Linked DNA regions of Homo sapiens: regions 2, 3, 4, 5 and 6 are each linked to region 1. The links are contacts of gene promoters, found by promoter capture Hi-C in blood cells and fetal thymus (Javierre and others, 2016). All regions are on one chromosome and are shown on one strand. The core of a region is centred on a gene start or on the middle of the fragment in contact, and the rest is flanking DNA. Distances in the headings are between cores, read along the strand shown.

What was found. Contacts are between HindIII fragments. The CHiCAGO score rates a contact against its expected background, and 5 or more counts as called.
Region 2: a contact is called between a fragment that was not itself captured here and the fragment with the promoter of PPP1R3C in region 1, in 2 of 17 cell types (endothelial precursors and megakaryocytes). The highest score is 6.3, in endothelial precursors.
Region 3: a contact is called between a fragment that was not itself captured here and the fragment with the promoter of PPP1R3C in region 1, in 1 of 17 cell types (endothelial precursors). The highest score is 6.3, in endothelial precursors.
Region 4: a fragment that was not itself captured here is called in contact with the fragment with the promoter of PPP1R3C in region 1 in 2 of 17 cell types (non-activated CD4 T cells and naive CD4 T cells); the score reaches 5.4 in non-activated CD4 T cells.
Region 5: a contact is called between a fragment that was not itself captured here and the fragment with the promoter of PPP1R3C in region 1, in 15 of 17 cell types (total CD8 T cells, naive CD8 T cells, megakaryocytes and 12 more). The highest score is 29.9, in total CD8 T cells.
Region 6: a contact is called between a fragment that was not itself captured here and the fragment with the promoter of PPP1R3C in region 1, in 2 of 17 cell types (endothelial precursors and naive CD8 T cells). The highest score is 6.5, in endothelial precursors.

What each region holds. Positions count from the first base shown.
Region 1 is chr10:91,631,458-91,634,396 of GRCh38, reverse strand. It overlaps PPP1R3C (protein phosphatase 1 regulatory subunit 3C), which reads left to right and starts at 1,326. Exons shown (of 2, transcript NM_005398.7): 1 at 1,326-1,441. The coding sequence starts at 1,428. RefSeq lists enhancers at 694-1,193, 1,194-1,695 and a silencer at 1,220-1,359. The HindIII fragment of the contact is 3,050 bases long and covers 1-2,352 here.
Region 2 is chr10:91,359,639-91,362,338 of GRCh38, reverse strand. All of the region lies in intron 3 of HECTD2-AS1 (HECTD2 antisense RNA 1), which reads left to right. Among named protein-coding and RNA genes, the nearest start is that of HECTD2, 49 kb to the left of the region's middle. The HindIII fragment of the contact is 744 bases long and covers 1,034-1,777 here.
Region 3 is chr10:91,915,102-91,917,888 of GRCh38, reverse strand. No RefSeq gene overlaps it. Among named protein-coding and RNA genes, the nearest start is that of FGFBP3, 7.0 kb to the right of the region's middle. The HindIII fragment of the contact is 1,904 bases long and covers 465-2,368 here.
Region 4 is chr10:91,277,003-91,279,887 of GRCh38, reverse strand. It overlaps PCGF5 (polycomb group ring finger 5), which reads right to left. Exons shown (of 10, transcript NM_032373.5): 10 at 1-1,619. The coding sequence ends at 1,572. Among named protein-coding and RNA genes, the nearest start is that of PCGF5, 58 kb to the right of the region's middle. The HindIII fragment of the contact is 946 bases long and covers 1,070-2,015 here.
Region 5 is chr10:91,297,872-91,300,845 of GRCh38, reverse strand. No RefSeq gene overlaps it. Among named protein-coding and RNA genes, the nearest start is that of PCGF5, 79 kb to the right of the region's middle. The HindIII fragment of the contact is 3,876 bases long and covers 1-2,974 here.
Region 6 is chr10:91,339,458-91,342,220 of GRCh38, reverse strand. All of the region lies in intron 4 of HECTD2-AS1 (HECTD2 antisense RNA 1), which reads left to right. Among named protein-coding and RNA genes, the nearest start is that of HECTD2, 70 kb to the left of the region's middle. The HindIII fragment of the contact is 1,978 bases long and covers 450-2,427 here.

The DNA of each region.
Region 1 (2,939 bases), core at 77-2,576:
TGGCACCATCTTACTTCATCTTCAGAACGTTACTATCTCTGTTTTACACATGAGGAAACTGAGGTTAGAACTTGCCTAGATTCGTGTAGCTAGTAAGTGTCAATCCAAAGACCTTCCAGCTAGTTTTGGTTGAGCTAAAGGGGCTAGAAGACCTGCCATTAGTTAGATATTTCATTTCAAAAATAAAACCCAGGCATGAAGTCCCTTTCCCAGTGATATTCAGTGTGATTTTTTTCTTCACTCTAATAATTTTAACAATTCCACTGTTTGACAGTTGTTTAAAAGACATAGGAATTTTTGTATATTTTAATTGACTAATGGATAGCTCAATTAGGGGAGCAAAACTAGGATGTGGGTTTTATAAAAATAATTTAGACTTGACTTAGACATTTAATTTTACAGTTGTAAATGATGGTCTAAAAATTCTTCAAACTAATCAAAATAATGAAACTTCAGCGAAAGTGAGTGGCTCAGAAGGCCCATGAAACATACGGCGTGATTTTTTAAATTTTATTTTAACATTTTGATTTCCACACCACTGCCAAAGGACGTCAGAATTGAGTAAGGGGTTTGGGTTGACTGCTGCCTCTTGACCGGCTGTATGTGTGAAAAGGGTCATTTCACTTCCGGCTTTAGTGTTCCCCGCAGGGGAGAAAATTGAAGAATAGACAGAAATACGAAGTGTCTTTTAATTAAATGCCACCTTGGTGTTTTATGGGGCTCGTATGCTTTCCTAACAACATTTGTTAGATAAGTTGGTAATTCCCGGCAGCTGTCTACTGTGTGGTGCATCTGTGAACTCATACTAATCGAAAAGCATGCAGCCAGTTTGGGATCGCGCAGGCTAAGGTGAGGGAGAAATGCGGATACACCGGGTAATGAACGATATAAACATTTCAAATGCGATACACATTCGGTTTGAGCCACATCTTCTGTGTGCAGATTCACCCGCAGTGACCCACAAAGCTATTCCCAAGTAACAGCCGCCCCAAGCCTGAGGCACTGGCGCCCCGCCTGGGCGAGGCTGGCTGCGCTCTCTCTTGGCCGGCGCCCGCTGCATGCGGTACGTGCCTGCCCGGCCCCTAGCCCAGGGTTCCCGTTACGCGGCTGGTTCCAGCTGGCCGCGGAGTCCCAGAACCTCCCCGCGATGCCCAGATAGCTCTCTGCACGTCTCGCCCCGGGGCGATCACGTTGCCGGGGCGAGGGCTGGCGCCCCAGCTGGGCGCTGGTTGGTCGCGCCCTGGGGCTCGAGGCCCGGCGATTGGTCCCAGGGATCGGGTCACGTGCTTGGGAGCAGATAAGCGGCCTCTAGGCGCCGGGCCCTCAGTCTCTCCCAGCGACCGCCGCGGGGGCAAGGCCTGGAGCTGTGGTTCGAATTTGTGCAGGCAGCGGGTGCTGGCTTTTAGGGTCCGCCGCCTCTCTGCCTAATGAGCTGCACCAGGTAGGTTCGCTGCAACTCTGCGCGCTAGGAACACAGGGGAACGCGCAGCTGTGGGGAAGTTGGGGGGCGTTTCAGTTCTATCATCTCTGGAAATGGACACCCCAGGGGGAGGACAAGTGGACTGACTGCGTAGTTGAATCTGGCAACCGAGAGGCCTTGGAGGTGTAGAAATTTGGCTCTATTTCTTAAGCAGAGCCTATTTTAGTAATCAGCATCTTAAAGCAGAAATTATCTTAACGTGAATCAGCTTGAGTTAGGATTTTCTCATGGATGCGGCTGTTCTTTTGGTCCTGCACAAATGTCCCAAAGACTCGGGCAGCTGAAGTGGTGAGAACAGCACTCTGACATTGCTGGTTAGGTGGTTTAGCTTGGAGGAAAAAAATTACAGGACGACGTTTGCATTCATTCGTCCTTCTTATCACAGTTTGCCATAGCAAAATCTCAAGAGTTTGAGCAAACGATTACTTTTAACTCTTGTCCAGGACTTAAAGTTCCAAGGAAATCACCCAAACTAAAACTGTCTTTCTATAAATGCAAAAAGTAAAAAAAAAAAAACAAAAAAACCAAAAAAAACCTCCCATAAAACTACTTTAAATAGCTTCTCCAGACATAGCTTAGCAGAAGACTTCTCTAAAAATCCTGCCTATTAACTATTATTAGACCCACAAATATAGCTTTAGCTTTCATTTGTTTGTTCTAAGTTTGCAGATCTCCCAGAAAAACCCCAGAGCTAACACAGTAAATTCTGCGAGTGTTATTACACACTTTTGTGATAATGACCACTTGCATACATGTTTAGAGCTGCTGTGAGGAGAGTTACTAAAGCCAGACTGAGAAATGTCGTGTACAGTATACACACACCTCTTACTTGTAAGGCTAAGATAGGGAAAAAAATCTTAATACCATAAGCTTGGAAATATATGATGAGGGCTAAAGGTCAGAGAAAAGTCTTCTTTATAGATGCTTCTTGGTTTAATATTGCTGAGCATAGTCATGTTTAAAACTTTAAATGGTTTTATTGTCTTTCTACTTATAAATGTCTATTAGAAAATGCCAAAAAAGAACAAAAACGAAAATAGATAATCTATAATCCTATCACCCAGAAATAATAATTATTAAATTATTAGGAAAGGTGTATTTCCTATAGAGTTTTTCAATATTTATAAGTTTGTATATATAAAATGTATATTTTAAAACACTCCAACTTTCAGGTAATCAGTTTTTCCACTTAAATGTGGACTTGTCATGGGCATCTCTTTAGGTGAATTATCAATTATATAGTTTTTAAGTGCATATGAATTGTTGGCTTGTATTTCAGTGGTTATTTGTGAAAAATAAGAGCATGATAATCAAAGTGCAAAGATGATTCTTTGACTTCTTCTCTAGCCTTCTCACTCTCAAAACTGTTGCATGTTATTTTTTTTTTTTCAAGTGAATTACCTTACCAGAGAAGTGTCAATCAATTTAGCAGCAAAATAAGCCAACGTAGCCAGAGGGA
Region 2 (2,700 bases), core at 156-2,655, 270 kb after region 1:
ACCAAGCAAATGGAAAAGAAAAAAAGGTAGGAGTTACAATCCTAGTCTCTGATAAAACAGACTTTAAACCAACAAAGATCAAAAGAGACAAAGGCGGCCATTACACAATGGTAAAGGGATCAATTCAACAAGAAGAGCTAACTATCCTAAATATATATGCACCCAATATAGGAGCACCCAGATTCATAAAGCAAGTCCTTAGAGACCTACGAAGAGACTTAGACTCCCACACAATATTAATGGGAGACTTTAACACTCCACTGTCAACATTAGACAGATCAGTGAGACAGAAAGTTAACAAGGATACCCAGGACTTGAACTCAGCTCTGCACCAAGCAGACCTAATAGACATCTACAGAACTCTCCACCCCAAATCAACAGAATATACATTCTTCTCAGCACCACATCACACTTATTCCAAAATTGACCACATAGTTGGAAGTAAAGCACTCCTCAGCAAATGTAAAAGAACAGAAATTATAACAAACTGTCTCTCAGACCACAGCACAATCAAACTAGAACTCAGGAGTAAGAAACTCATTCAAAACAGCTCAATTACATAGAAACTGAACAAGCTGCTCCTGAATGACTACTGGGTAAATAACAAAATGAAGGCAGAAATAAAGATGTTCTTTGAAACCGATGAGAACAAAGACACAACATACCAGAATCTCTGCAACACATTTAAAGCAGTGTGTAGAGGGAAATTTATAGCACTAAATGCCCACAAGAGAAAGCAGGAAAGATCTAAAATTGACACCCTAACGTCACAATTAAAAGAACCAGAGAAGCAAGAGCAAACACATTCAAAATGTTACCACCACATTATATCAGTTACAAATATGCATCATCATGGAAATTGTGGGATTACTTTGCAAAGGAAAAAAATCAAATAAATTAAAGACAAAAAACAAAAGGTAGGAATATGAGCAGTTAATAGAGTCCTAAATAATGGAATCTCGAGGGATTAGAGCACGACTAGTTATTCCTTATGATCAGGAACACACTGAGAAAGGATATCTGTAGTCAAGCTTCTAAGTTTGTAGGAGATATTAACTTGTTTGAGGGAATGAAATGTCAACCAGTGAAGATAATCACAAGCCTCACAAGAAAATTAGCAGCAGAGTGTCAGCAAGGGTGAATGTGAAGTGGAGTGTGAAGAAATATAATGATTCAAATTTTGATTATGAGCATGAACGTTAAACTATCAGATATGCTCACAGAAGTCCTAAAGTCACCCTGACCTAGTAAATAGCTTTACTATTTACTAATGAAGGCTGGCTGGTCATCTTTGGGAAGATCTCTGGAAGCAAACTGAAAAGAATATGATCTTGCCTGGTTTCAAAACCCCGATTCATCTGTATCTAGAAAAAAGGAAACATAAATGATCATTATGACAAGAAAAATCAATAGAACTAGAGCAGGTCCAAAGAAAGGCAATTGGAAAAATCCAGCAGATGGGGAAATATCTGGACAGTTTGAAAATTGTACTCTGATTTGGATATCTCAACACTAAAAAGATATTATTTTTGTCTATGAATCTGTTAGATAAACATTAAATACGGATAATGATTTGTTTCCAAATTCCTGGAATACCAGATACCACTTGAAATGCTACTAGTAACAACAATGACAATGATGACGATGATGATGACAATGACAACAATGATGACAGCACATAATTTTGTGCTTGATAAAGAATTCATACTTAGTGAATGCCTGTTGAATGACATGGGTCATTTTTTTTCATATTTCCTAATATCTCAGAAGCTAAGCTTCCAGGACCTCCCTCAGGGAAAAAGGAAGACTTTTCTGGACCTGTTTAGACTCACTTTGTCATCGAATCAAGTCTCCCAGTGCAGTAGGCAGCCATGTACTGCAGCCCAAGACATCCCAGTCCTCTCGTGTATTTAATGGTGTAGGATGGAGTTTGTTCCTTTGGGAAATGGGAGATTCACAGTTTGGTTATTGCAATTCAGGGTTCCCAGGAAGCAGATCCTGTGATTGAGATTGACATTCAGGAGATTTTGTAGGACCTTTTGATGTCAATGCCTATGGAAGGAAGGGAAAGTAAGCAGGATTGGGCCAAGGGAGAAGGTGATCTGTATTGCAGTCTCAACAGATGACTTAGCCAACTATACAGGGAGTTATGGAGACAGAGTAAAAGTACAGAGGTGTCTCAGGAGAAACTTTATTCACCATGTTAATCAGTCATTAGATGTGAGGCCCCTTGTGAAGGAGATGTGATCTTGGTAAGGTAATTTCCTTCAGCAGAGGCAATCCCCACAAAGGGCTAAAGGTGGAGTGCCAGTAGCAGTCCCAATATCTGGGGGGTAATTGGCCCTTCGTTCTCCAAGACAGACCTTGGCAGCATATCCCACTGTCCCCCATACTGGCCTCCCTCTTGACCTCCAGTTCCCATTTCTGATTTACATGGCTGAGCAGCAAGAGGCTACTACTAAGGCTCTGTTTAGTGAAAGACAATGGTTTAGTTGCCAAGTACAAGACCAGCCCTTGGGGAAATCAAGGAGCTGACAGATCTGCCATCAGTGGTCCTGGCTTCCCTTCCCAGACTCCTTTCTCCCTTTGCAATAGTTTTTCCTTTTCCTGCTCCTCCCTTCCTTGCCCGGTGCACTTCTTCTCACCTCCCCCTACCTCTACCATATATACCTTTCCAGTGGAAATAATTGGATAATTTCA
Region 3 (2,787 bases), core at 167-2,666, 280 kb before region 1:
AAAAAAAAAAAAAAAAAAAAAAAAAAGCAGAGCTTGCTATACTTACATCTGATAAAATAGACTTTGAGTCAAATCCTGTCACAAGAGACAAAGATGTTCATTATTTAATGATAAACAGGTCAATCCATCAAGAGGACACAATGAGCGTAAATATATATGAACCTAACATTGGAATACTTAAATACATAAAACAAATATTAATGAACATAAAGGGTGAAACAGACAGCAATACAATAATAGTAGGAGACTTCGATATCCCACTTTCAACAACTGATAGAGCAACTGAACAGAAAATTAATAAGGAAATACTGGACTTGAATTGCACTTTTGGCCAAATGAACCTAACAGATATACAGAGAACTTTCCACCCAACAGCAGCAGAATACACATTTTTTCTCTAGTGTACATGGAACATTCTCCAGGATAGAGCATATGTTAAGCCACAAAACTAGTCTTAACAAGCTTATAAGGTCATATCTAGTATTTTTTCAGACCATAGAGGTATTAAACTAGAAATCAATAACAGAAGGAATCTTTAAAAATTCACAAGTATGTAGAAATTAAGCAACATGCTCTTGAACAATCGATGGATCAAAGAAGAAATCAAAAGGTAAATTCACAAAAATCTTGAGGCAAATAACAATGGAAACATAACACATCTGCAGCAAAAGCAGTTCTGAGAGAAGTTTATAACAACAAATGCCTGCATTAAAAAAGAAAATCCCATATAGTTTAACATTATGCCTCAAGGAACTAGAAAAAGAAGCATAAACTAAACCCAAAATTAACAGAAGGGAGGAAACAATGAAAATCAGAACCGAAATAAAACAAATAGAGAACAGAAAAACCGTAGAAAGAATAGAACTAAGAGTTGGTTTTTTGAACAAATAAATAAAATTGATAAATCATGTAAGAGATAAAGAGAAGACTCAAAAAATCAAAGTGAAGAAATTAAAACAGATGTCTTAGAAATAAAAAACAAGATTATAAGGGACTATTATGAACAAGTATATGCCAATAAATTGGATAACCTAGAAAAAATGGATAAATTCCTAGAAAAATACAACCTACCAAGATTGAGTCAGGAAGAAATAGAAGGCATGAGCCGACTAATAACAAATAAAGAGATTGAAGTAGTAATAAAAAACTGGGAGCAGTGGCTCATGCCTGTAATCCCAACACTCTGGGAGGCCAAGGCGGGCAGATCACCTGAGGTGAGGAATTTGAGACCAGCCTGGCCAACATGATGAAACCCCATCTCTACTAAAAATACAAAAATTAGCTGGGCCTGGTGGTGGGTGCCTGTAATTCCAGCTACTTAGGAGGCTGAGGCACAAGAATTGCTTGAACCTGGGAAGCGGAGTTTGCAGTGAGCCAAATGAGCCAATGCAGTGAGCCAGTGCACTACGGCCTGGACGACAGAGCAAGACTCCATCTGAAAAAAACCAAGAAACGCCGGGCACGGTTGCTCATGCCTGTAATTCCAGCACTTTGGGAAGCCAAGGCGGGTGGATTACCTGAGGTCGGGACTTCAAGACCAGTCTGATCAACATGGAGAAACCCCATCTCTACTAAAAATACAAAATTAGCCGGGGTGGTGGCGCATGCCTGTAATCCCAGCTACTCGGGAGGCTGAGGCAGGAGAATCGCTTGAACCTGGGAGGCGGAGGTTGCAGTGAGCCGAGATTGCGCCATTGCACTCCAGCCTGAGCAACAACAGCGAAACTCTGTCTCAAAAAAAAAAAAACAAAAAAACAAAAAACCAACAAAAAAACAAAAAACTGCCCAACAAAGAAAAGCCAAGCCCAGGACCAGATGGCTTCACACTGAATTCTACCAAACTTTCAAAGAAGAATTAATACCAATGCTTCTTAATACAACTCTTCCAAAAAATAAAGCTAGAGGGAGTATTTCCAAATAAACTTTATGAGGCCATCTTCACTTTGATACCTAAGTGAAAGATATCACAAGAAAAGAAAACTATAGGACAATCTCTCTGATGAATATTAATGCAAAAATTCTCAATATGATATTAGCAAGCTGAATTTAACAATACATAAAAAAGATCATACATCATGACCAAATGAGAATTATCCTAGCCATGCAAGTCTGGCTAGGATAAGTGTAACATATGCATATCAATCGATGTGATAGATTTAACAGAATGAAAGATTAAAAACCACATGATCATCTCAATTGATTTGGGAAAAGCATTCAATAAAGTCCAACATTTTTTCTTGATAAAAACTCACAATAATTTAGGTATAGAAGGAAAGGTCCTCAACATATTAAAAGCCATTTATGAAAAACCCACAGCTAACATATAATATTAGTTCCTCATATAATCAATGGGGAAATACTGAAAGCTTTTCCCCTAAGATGTAGTAAAAGACAAAGGCAAGGATGCCCAGTCTCACCACTTCTATGTAACACGGTACTAGAAGTACTACCAAGAGCAATCAGACAAGAAAAATAAGAAGCGTCCAAATTATAAAAGAAGTAAAATTATCTCTATTACAGATGACATTATCTTATTTTTAAAAACTTTAAAGATTTCACAAAAACCTATTAGAACCACTAAATGAATTGAGTTTCAGGATACAAAATGAACATACCAAAATCAGTAGCATTTTTATACACATAATGACCTAACAGAAAAAGAATGCAAGAAAACAATCCCATTTATGATAGGATGAAAAAGTAAAATAAAATCAAATACTTATGAATAAATTTAACTGACTGAGGTGTAAAAATTACACTGAAAACTGTAAAACATTCATGAAAGAA
Region 4 (2,885 bases), core at 293-2,792, 350 kb after region 1:
TGCTAGAGTTGTACAATATCTTATTTCTAAGAATCATTTTGAAATTCAGAAGGCATTGATTTCTGATACATTTTACTGGAAAATGTGACACATTTACCACATATGCAGTATAAAAACTAAATGTGTGTAACACACAGATTGTGCTCGTCATATTTCTCAAATATTTTTCCTAACTTTCAAGATTTTTTCCTAAGTTTCAAAGGTTAGCTTGTTTGTTTCAAAGCAATTTCCAAGTAAGGTTTTTGAAAACTGTAAATATTAAAAGATTTAAAATGACAGTTTTCATATAATTTAAGGTAACAAGACTTTCTTTGACTTGCAGACTAATCCTAAAACGAATGGAAGACTTAACAAAACTGCAAAATACAGGACATTTTGTATTTCTGATCTTAATGAACTCATGTATAAAATAATAATCTTCTCATTTCCCCAATTACTACAGGATTTAAAATAAAATACCCTTAACCTATTAATTTTGGTTAGCATAGTTCTATACTGCATTTATTCTATTTTATGCACATAGTTTGGAAATGTGAAAGGTAACTAACAGTTTTAATCTACAACTGTTTTGAGACTTTTGAAATCCATAAAATAGCTAATGTTATGTGCTCTAAAAATCCTAATATTTAAAATCGTCATAACCCTCTGCATGCCACAATGACATATACCTAAGGCCAACTTAAAAAGAGAAATAATGCACTCATTAAATAACAGCAACAATGTAATGATACATGAAATGGGCTATACAATGACGTTTCATGAAGCAGCACCTGCTTGTCATAAGGCATTATGAAAGAAGATTAACCTTACTTACACATTACTTTTATCAGAAGTAAATGTGATCAGCTGCCAACATTTTGAATGGTTGGGAATCTAACTTCAGTTCAAGAGGTCACATACATTTTCAATCTGGAGGGCTAACATGCCTTCCTTGTGCAATTGGTAGACTACACGGACAGATGCTTAGAATGTCTACAATTATATTGTGCTCTAATGTTACAGAATAATTGGAATTCTTGGCAAAAGGACTTGCACACTCAAGAATGAACTTTTTTTCACACAAAAAGCTTATCAAGAACAAGACAGTGGCTCAAAAACCACTTTTCTAAATATACTTCCATACAAAATAATTTCAAGATATAATTATTAGTTTCTTGTAGAGTACGCTATTTAAACAAGAATAAAAGAGTAAGTATGTGAAAACTGCAACACCACAAAAATTGAGCCATTTTACTAGTGTAATTAAACATTAGAACAATCTTGGAACAGGCAAGCAAAATATTCAGAAGGGTGAATCATGGCGGCACAGCTAACTGATTTTTACCATGACTTGCACACTTTGAGACAACACAAATACCTTATGCAGATGGTTCAGTAGCAGAATGGCACTTGGTTTGCTCCTAATAGAAACAACATGAATGCAACTGACAATTTAGAGATAGACAATGGCCTTATTTGCATGCTGAAAATCTGGTTGTGTTCCTCTAGTCCACACACCGTTAACTGTGCAATCTGTTGACGAGTAAACAAATAGTGCAGGATTCATCTCAGTGAGGTCTGGGCCCCTTGGTCTAACCGAAATCAATTCTTGGTCGATACTGCAGTACCATAGGGTATGACTACAAAATAAAGACAGATAATAAATAAGACTGTATTTGGATAAAAACAATACAGTTTATATATGAAAGATTTTAAGAATTCGGAGTTATAATTTACAGTATTTCCTGGTACTAGTGATTACAACAGTTAAAATTTGAGTTACCATTAAAACTCTATTTCTTTTGATTGCCATTATTTTTCTAGAATCAGTCAAGTTTTCAGTAATATGCAGCAGAGGTCAAGTTCAAAGGCCTACAGACATCATACAGGTTGTATATATGACTAGTGCTAGCACAACACTTAGGAGAGGCAAGAACTGGGAAGGACTGAAAGTCACACACCCTGCTTATAGGCATTCAGTTAGTAACCCTAGGAGGCGAACAAGACAGATCAGCAGCCTGGATTCCACTAAAGCTTAGGCTGGTGAGAGCCCACTAGATCACAAATCAACAAAGAGACCCCCTCTGCTAGGAACCTGTAAAACTGGAGTAGTGTTCACAAATCATATTTCTTACAAGTTTGAAACATTTTTTAAATTTAAAATTTATTTTAATGATCCTTTAAAAATATTGAAAAAGTAGCTGATTGTTACATGAAACATTTAGGTCACTACCTCCTTTCAACAGTTGATACTAATAAACATTTGGATTTGACTATTACATAAAATAACTGAATGGTTCATATTGTTTTTCATGTCACTATGTAGAAAAGGTATCATATATCTGGCTATCATACAGAACTAGAGAGGAAACAGCTTCTTTGGGATAAAGGCATATGGCATATGCCACGCTACCTCTGTGTTTGTTTTTACCCTGTACCATATCTTATAGAACCAAAACATCAGTGGTTTTCCTTTTCTTAAAGCTGTAGATACTCTCTCTTAAAATGAAATTTGAGGAGCTACTTTTATGGAATCAAGAAGGGGCTGAGATGGTCACTGACTAATGTTTCTCCATCTTGGTATACATGAATATAAAAATACGGTATAGAGAACTTTGTATTCTTTCATATAGATAAAAGGGCTAGACTGAGATTTAACAATCCTGAAAATGACCATTTCAGTGCTTACTATAGCTATGCTACACACTGGGAAGACTCAATGTTGGAATCTGTAACCATTCAGCTCAGGATGGAACTAGAGGGCAGGAATACAAATGCCCTAGGTCTTGCTCTCCCAGGTGAAGTACAGCAGATGCTACTACAGCTGTCTAAGGGCTGGAGTAAAAGTCTCAAGACAGTCTCTCAGGGTTTCCAAGGTTTAAAACTTCTAAAACTGTTCTGGTTTT
Region 5 (2,974 bases), core at 133-2,632, 330 kb after region 1:
AGACACACACACACACACACACACACACACACACACACACACTATTGGTCCCATATCTATGGAGAACCCTAATACTGAACCTTCCAGCTTCAGTCACCATAGGGAGATTGCTCAGTGTCAAGTCCAAAAAATTCTAACCAAAGGAGTCAAGAGTCAGTAGCCCACTTTGGATTGAGTGCCAGTTAGGTTGATGGGTCATGTACTATATACAGAGAGAGAGAGAGAAAGAGAGAGAGAGCTCCTGTGAGAAATACGGATGGGAAAGGTGGCAGTTTCTAGAAAAACAAGTATGTGAGTGTGGAGGAGACAATCCTATAGATCTCCATCCACTCTAACAATTAGCCTATTGTTTCCATAGTAAAATGGAATTTTATAAACATTAATGTCATAGAACCCATGATTCAACATTCAACCATTTGCAAATATTTTCCATTCTTTGCAAAAGCAATATCATTGGCAAGGCTAGCACAGGCTAGGTGTGGTTGTGATTTTCTTTTTGGTTGCTGTGCCAGAGGGACCCTTGCTTTTCAGGATTCCCAAGGATTAGAGCTTCCATGTGTCGAAGGTAAGGACAGAGTAAACAGGATGCATAATTCTTAGGCAGCATGAATGGCTGCAAAAAGGCCTTGAGGTTTCATCAGCCAGCATTTCTGAAGCATCTCCTATGCAGCAAGCATTCTGTAAGGTGATGCCCTCAGCAGTAGGCTGGTACCTCAATAAATATTTATGCAATAAATATTTGCTGAATGGAATATGTGTGTGGCATTTAGTGACCTTTGGTTCATTCTTGCTGAAGAGCCCAGCAGCTTCTCACATGCAAATGATGCCACAGTCACCCAAGCCCCTGTCACCACTGCAAACACAGACAGCTGCACCTTGGAAGATGGGAACCTGAAACATTTTCATGGGCTTACTTAGTTGATGGAGGTGATGGTGAAGGTGGGAGTGGAAGCTGTGGAGGTGTGGCAATTGAGAACACTGGGTCTCAAACTGTAGCATGTATTCAAATCACCTGGAAGGCTTGTTAAAACAGATTCCTGGGCTCTGCCCTAGTAGGTCCTTGGCAGGCCTGAGAATTTGCATTTCTAACAAGTTCCCAGGTAATACTGATGCTGCCGGCTGACTTTGAGAACCACAGAGCTATCAGAGTGGCCCTTCTCAAGCCTGGCTACACATTAAAAATCACCTGGTAGCCCCCTCCCCACTACCCTAGCAGAGACCAACTAGATGAGAATCTCTGGGAATTGGTCTGAGGTTATGTCTCAGCTCTACAGGTGATTCCAATGTGCATCCAGAGGCCATAATCAGTGCCTTACATCAACCAAGACAAATGTAAACATGATAGGGCAGAGAGAAGGCCCTTGGAGAGAGCCTTAGACACATGAAGTATAAGCTAAAATTCTTCTATGTCAGTTAGTTTGATTAGTACTGACTGCCAAATAGCAAAAGAAGCCCCCACAGATCCATGGGGTGGGGGGAGGCTCAGTACTTTTAAGATTTGTGAAGGGGTCCCAAGAACAAAACAATTGAGAACTAGCATTATTAGCTCTATGGTGAACAATAGGACCCTCAGGAAGTGCCAGACCTGGGAGGGAACTTGGGTACCCTACAACCGGGCTCTCATTTTACAGATGAGAAAACTGAGGCTCGGCTCTCTAGCGGTTTGCCGGCAGGTCACCCAAGGGGCAATGACAGAGCCAGCCCTGGGCTCTGATGGCAGCTTCTGTGCTTCCTGATTCCCATCCCTGGGATTGAGACCGGGACAACGCTTTTCCATAGGTGTTCCTAGATTAGCAGAGGATGCTGGGAACAGCTTTCTGTGGCTCATTCTTGCATAGAAAGAAAACCCTCCTAAAGGTTTTGGAATCTCGCCCTTCATGTTCACTGTGCTCACACAAAGCTCTTCTTTTCAGAAGCAGTTCTTTTCTCAGAACACTTCAAATGTAACAAATATACATCCATCAGCGTGGAGCGGCAATCAGCTCACTCACTATTCATTCGAGTTGGTGACCCAGGGCCTCCGCGCCCTGGAAACGCTCCACGGGGACACCGCGCCGTGCCAGAGAAGCTGGCCTCCAAACAACCCGCTGTAAACAGCTTTGCAGAGATCTTCCTCTGGAGGGCACAGATCCCTGGGATTGCTAGGATGAGGTTTCTCATTCTTTCCGAAGTAAAGGGAACTGGCAAAGTTAAAGCAGGAATGAAAGAGCTTTGATCTTATGAGGCGGAGGTGCTTATCCCAGCTGGGGTTAACAAGGAGGACATTCAAGCACTGCGAGCGGTCCACTCCTCGTTCTTGCATGCCCCAGCCCTGAAGGAAGTGGGTTGCAGCTCTCGTTACCCATCCTCCAGGTGGATCCTCTTCCTTCTGCCCGCCCTCAAAAGGCAAAGAACCACTGCGGGCTGATGGCGCCCTCTGGAGGCCGTGATGGGAAACTGTGTGCCTCAATTTTGCAGCCACGGCTGCCTTCCCCTCCCCCACTTTCCAGGGGCTCCTGCCCAGGTCGGGCTTCCCAAGGTCTCTTCCTCAGTACATTACACATACTCCTTCTTATGTGTGAGCACATAGATAGCAAAGCACCCAGAGGCACGCATACCCTTCTTTAACCCCCCGGTTCATCTCAAGTCTTACCTGTCAGTTATCTCACGTTAAAAAAAAAAAAAAAAAACAATTCCACCTCCCTCTTTTCATTCCATTTGTGTTGCCCAGAGTTTAATCACATCTGACAAGACTCACAGGGGTGTTAGTGAAAGAACTCTACCAAGGGAAAGAAACACCACCTGCAATGAAGTAAAACTGAGTGCAGTCAACAGATGTAATCCTGTAGGGCCTGGTGGGGCTGCCAGGCTCCCAGGTAGAGGAAACCACCATCGCAGTTTGCAGAAGACTAGTGGAGCTCCCGGGTCATGAGATTATTAAGTGCTAAAACCGGGACACTCCCATTAAAACTGTGGCAGTGGGTCGCCCTACTTC
Region 6 (2,763 bases), core at 189-2,688, 290 kb after region 1:
GAGACCAGACCACCTGGTTGAGGAATAATCCCACTCCAAGACTTGATGTGGAGTCTAGGACCCAGAACTTGACTCATTATGGCTCCCTTGGCTTTGTGATACTGTTATAGAACCAAAGTGGGGTCCACTGGCCTGGCACAGTAAGGCCAGACATCCACACTGAGGTTTGAAGTGGCAAGAAAGGAAGGTATTTATTTGCAGGGCACCAAGAAAGGAGAATTGGCAGCTAATGCTTATGTCCTGACTTCCCAATGGCTTGCAAGTAAGGGTTTTTAAAAGCAGGGGTAAATTTCAGGAAAGCAGAAGTTACAGGCAAGATCATAAATCAATACATGGAGGCTACACATGGGTTTTGGCCTGAAAGGGTGGGGGATCTTGAAGCAGGAGCTTACAGGTCATAGGCAGGTTCAAAGATTTTCTCTTTTACAATTGGTTAAGGAAGAGAAGCTTTGTTTAAAAATTTAAGGTCAGCAGAAAGAATGTTAGCTCTGGCTCATGGGTGTGACTTCCTCCAGGACACTCAGGAAGAAATTTAGAACAAAGAATGGTTATCAGAATTCAGTCCTCAGTTCTACATTATCTGAGGTCTATGTGCCAGTGTATCCATTTGTTGGAGGTCCAGGTTTCTGAAAAATAACTCGGGTACATATGTTAAGATGTTATCTTTAGTTTCTATAGGGAACCAAACATCTCGGGACTCTCAGTTCCTTGGCTATTGTTTCAGGCTACCATTACCTTCTTGTTTATCAAGCTGCTTATTCACTTTCAGGGCTAGCTAGGCATCTGGAATTTCCCTTGAAGGAGCTCAAGATTTTCCTTTATTTCCATGCTTGGGGACCCAGAGACCCCTAAAAGGGGTCCCTGCTCCATCTCAGTACCTGGATTTTCACTTCCTTGCTAAGTCAGTCAGTTATAAAAAGCAGATTCAGCTCTAGCCCACATCTGAGTAACTGAGAAATTATCATCTCCACTTGGCAAAAACGGAAGCGTGAAATGTGAGTCAGTTGTTTTATTCCACTTCCTAGTGGAGAGAGACAGTTTCTCATCCAGTGTGAATCGAGTCATTCAGGAAGAAACTCAATCCCAGAGAATTATTCAGATGGCGATTGCAGCCTGCTCCTAATTAGACACAGGCTGACTCAGGGGCCAGGGCCTGATGCGGCTGGCAAGCAGCTGTCTCACAGGCTCACTTCTTACTCAGTCTCCTGGCACCTGTGCCTCCCTCTATCAAATAAACACAATTATAATTACTCCCTATTTAAGTGCAGCACAACCTGATTTCCATGTTATTTATACTCCGCACCCCCAAAACACACACACCATCTAATGAGGAGGTGGGTTCCAGCTGCTGGAGGGCCCCTGAAGTGTGCAAGGCTGGAGGTGAACTCCCAGGCAGAGATGAACTGCTCACCAGGAACGGAACAGGGTGGCGCTACAGGAAAACAAAATTTCCAGGGGGTAAAAACAGAATAGGGAGACACAAGACCACAAGGTCAGGAAACAGGTCCAGGGCAAAGAAGAATCCAGCTTGGAGACCAGATACTTCCAAAGAGAACTGAGGATGTCAGGCTGAGATTTTGCATGGGAGTTTCCTATAGGATTTGTATAGGAGATTTTGTGTAGGAGCTTCCTATAGGATTTGTATGGGAGATTTTGTAAGATTTTGTGTAGGAGTTTTCCATAGAATTTGTATAGGAGATTTTGTAAGATTTTGTGTGGGAGTTTCCCATAGGATTTGTATGGGAGATTTTATAAGATTTTGTGTAGGAAACTCCTACACAAAATCTTGGTCAACATCTATGCAGTTCATTAATACTTTTGGTGCAGAACAGATTGTCTATTTATTTACTGGAAAGGAGAGAGATGCTGTGTCCTGCATCAAGGTTAGCAAGAGATGAAAAGAGAGGCTGAGTTACTTGTGTAGTTACAGTATTTTTTAAATGTCAATTTGCCAGCCTAATCTGTGAGCTACAATGAGGATAGGGATTGTGTCTCTTGTTAGCAGATCCCCAGTGCCTAGCACAATGTGAGCACATAATAGGTGTTCAAACAGTTATTGTGTGAATACGTTGAATGCCTCCACTTAATGGCTCCATACAACTTCTGATTCCCAACTGAACTGAAGTCTAAAATAATGTTTTTTGTCCCTTTGCCTAGGGTTCACAGGGCACATTAGAAAGCTGATGATTTGGAGCATGGTAGGAGTGGCAGCAGCAGCTTTAGGGCAATGCTTTCAGAAAGATGTTCTTCAGCCCTCAGGAAGTGGTACTGCTGGCTGACAACACAGCTGGAACCCCACATAGAGGAAATAACACGGGCCATCAAGATGCCCACTCTAACAAGGGAGACCAATCTGATTTCCATAAGTATTAAAGTCAAATGTTGCTAGGGGATTTTGCATGCTGATTCATAGAGAAAAATAAAGCTTTGCTTAAAGAATGCATACATTCTTTCTGTTTACCCTCTGGGAACATCCATTATAAAGAGAAATTGAACTCTAATTGTACTCAATTGTGACACTTAGAAAGAAATATAAAGTATATGTAGTTGCAACAACCTTCAGTCTTTTCTCTAGGCTAAATGGAACATACTAAATTGAGAAGGAGGTGCTATAGGCTTCATGGTATCCCTAGAATAAAATGGTATAAATAGTATTTTGAATCAGAAGATGTGGCTTAAAGGCCCAACTCAACCACTTACCAGCGATGTGAGTTCCAAGGCTTATTTTAATAACTGATTCTGATTTTGCTTAAGTTCTTAATT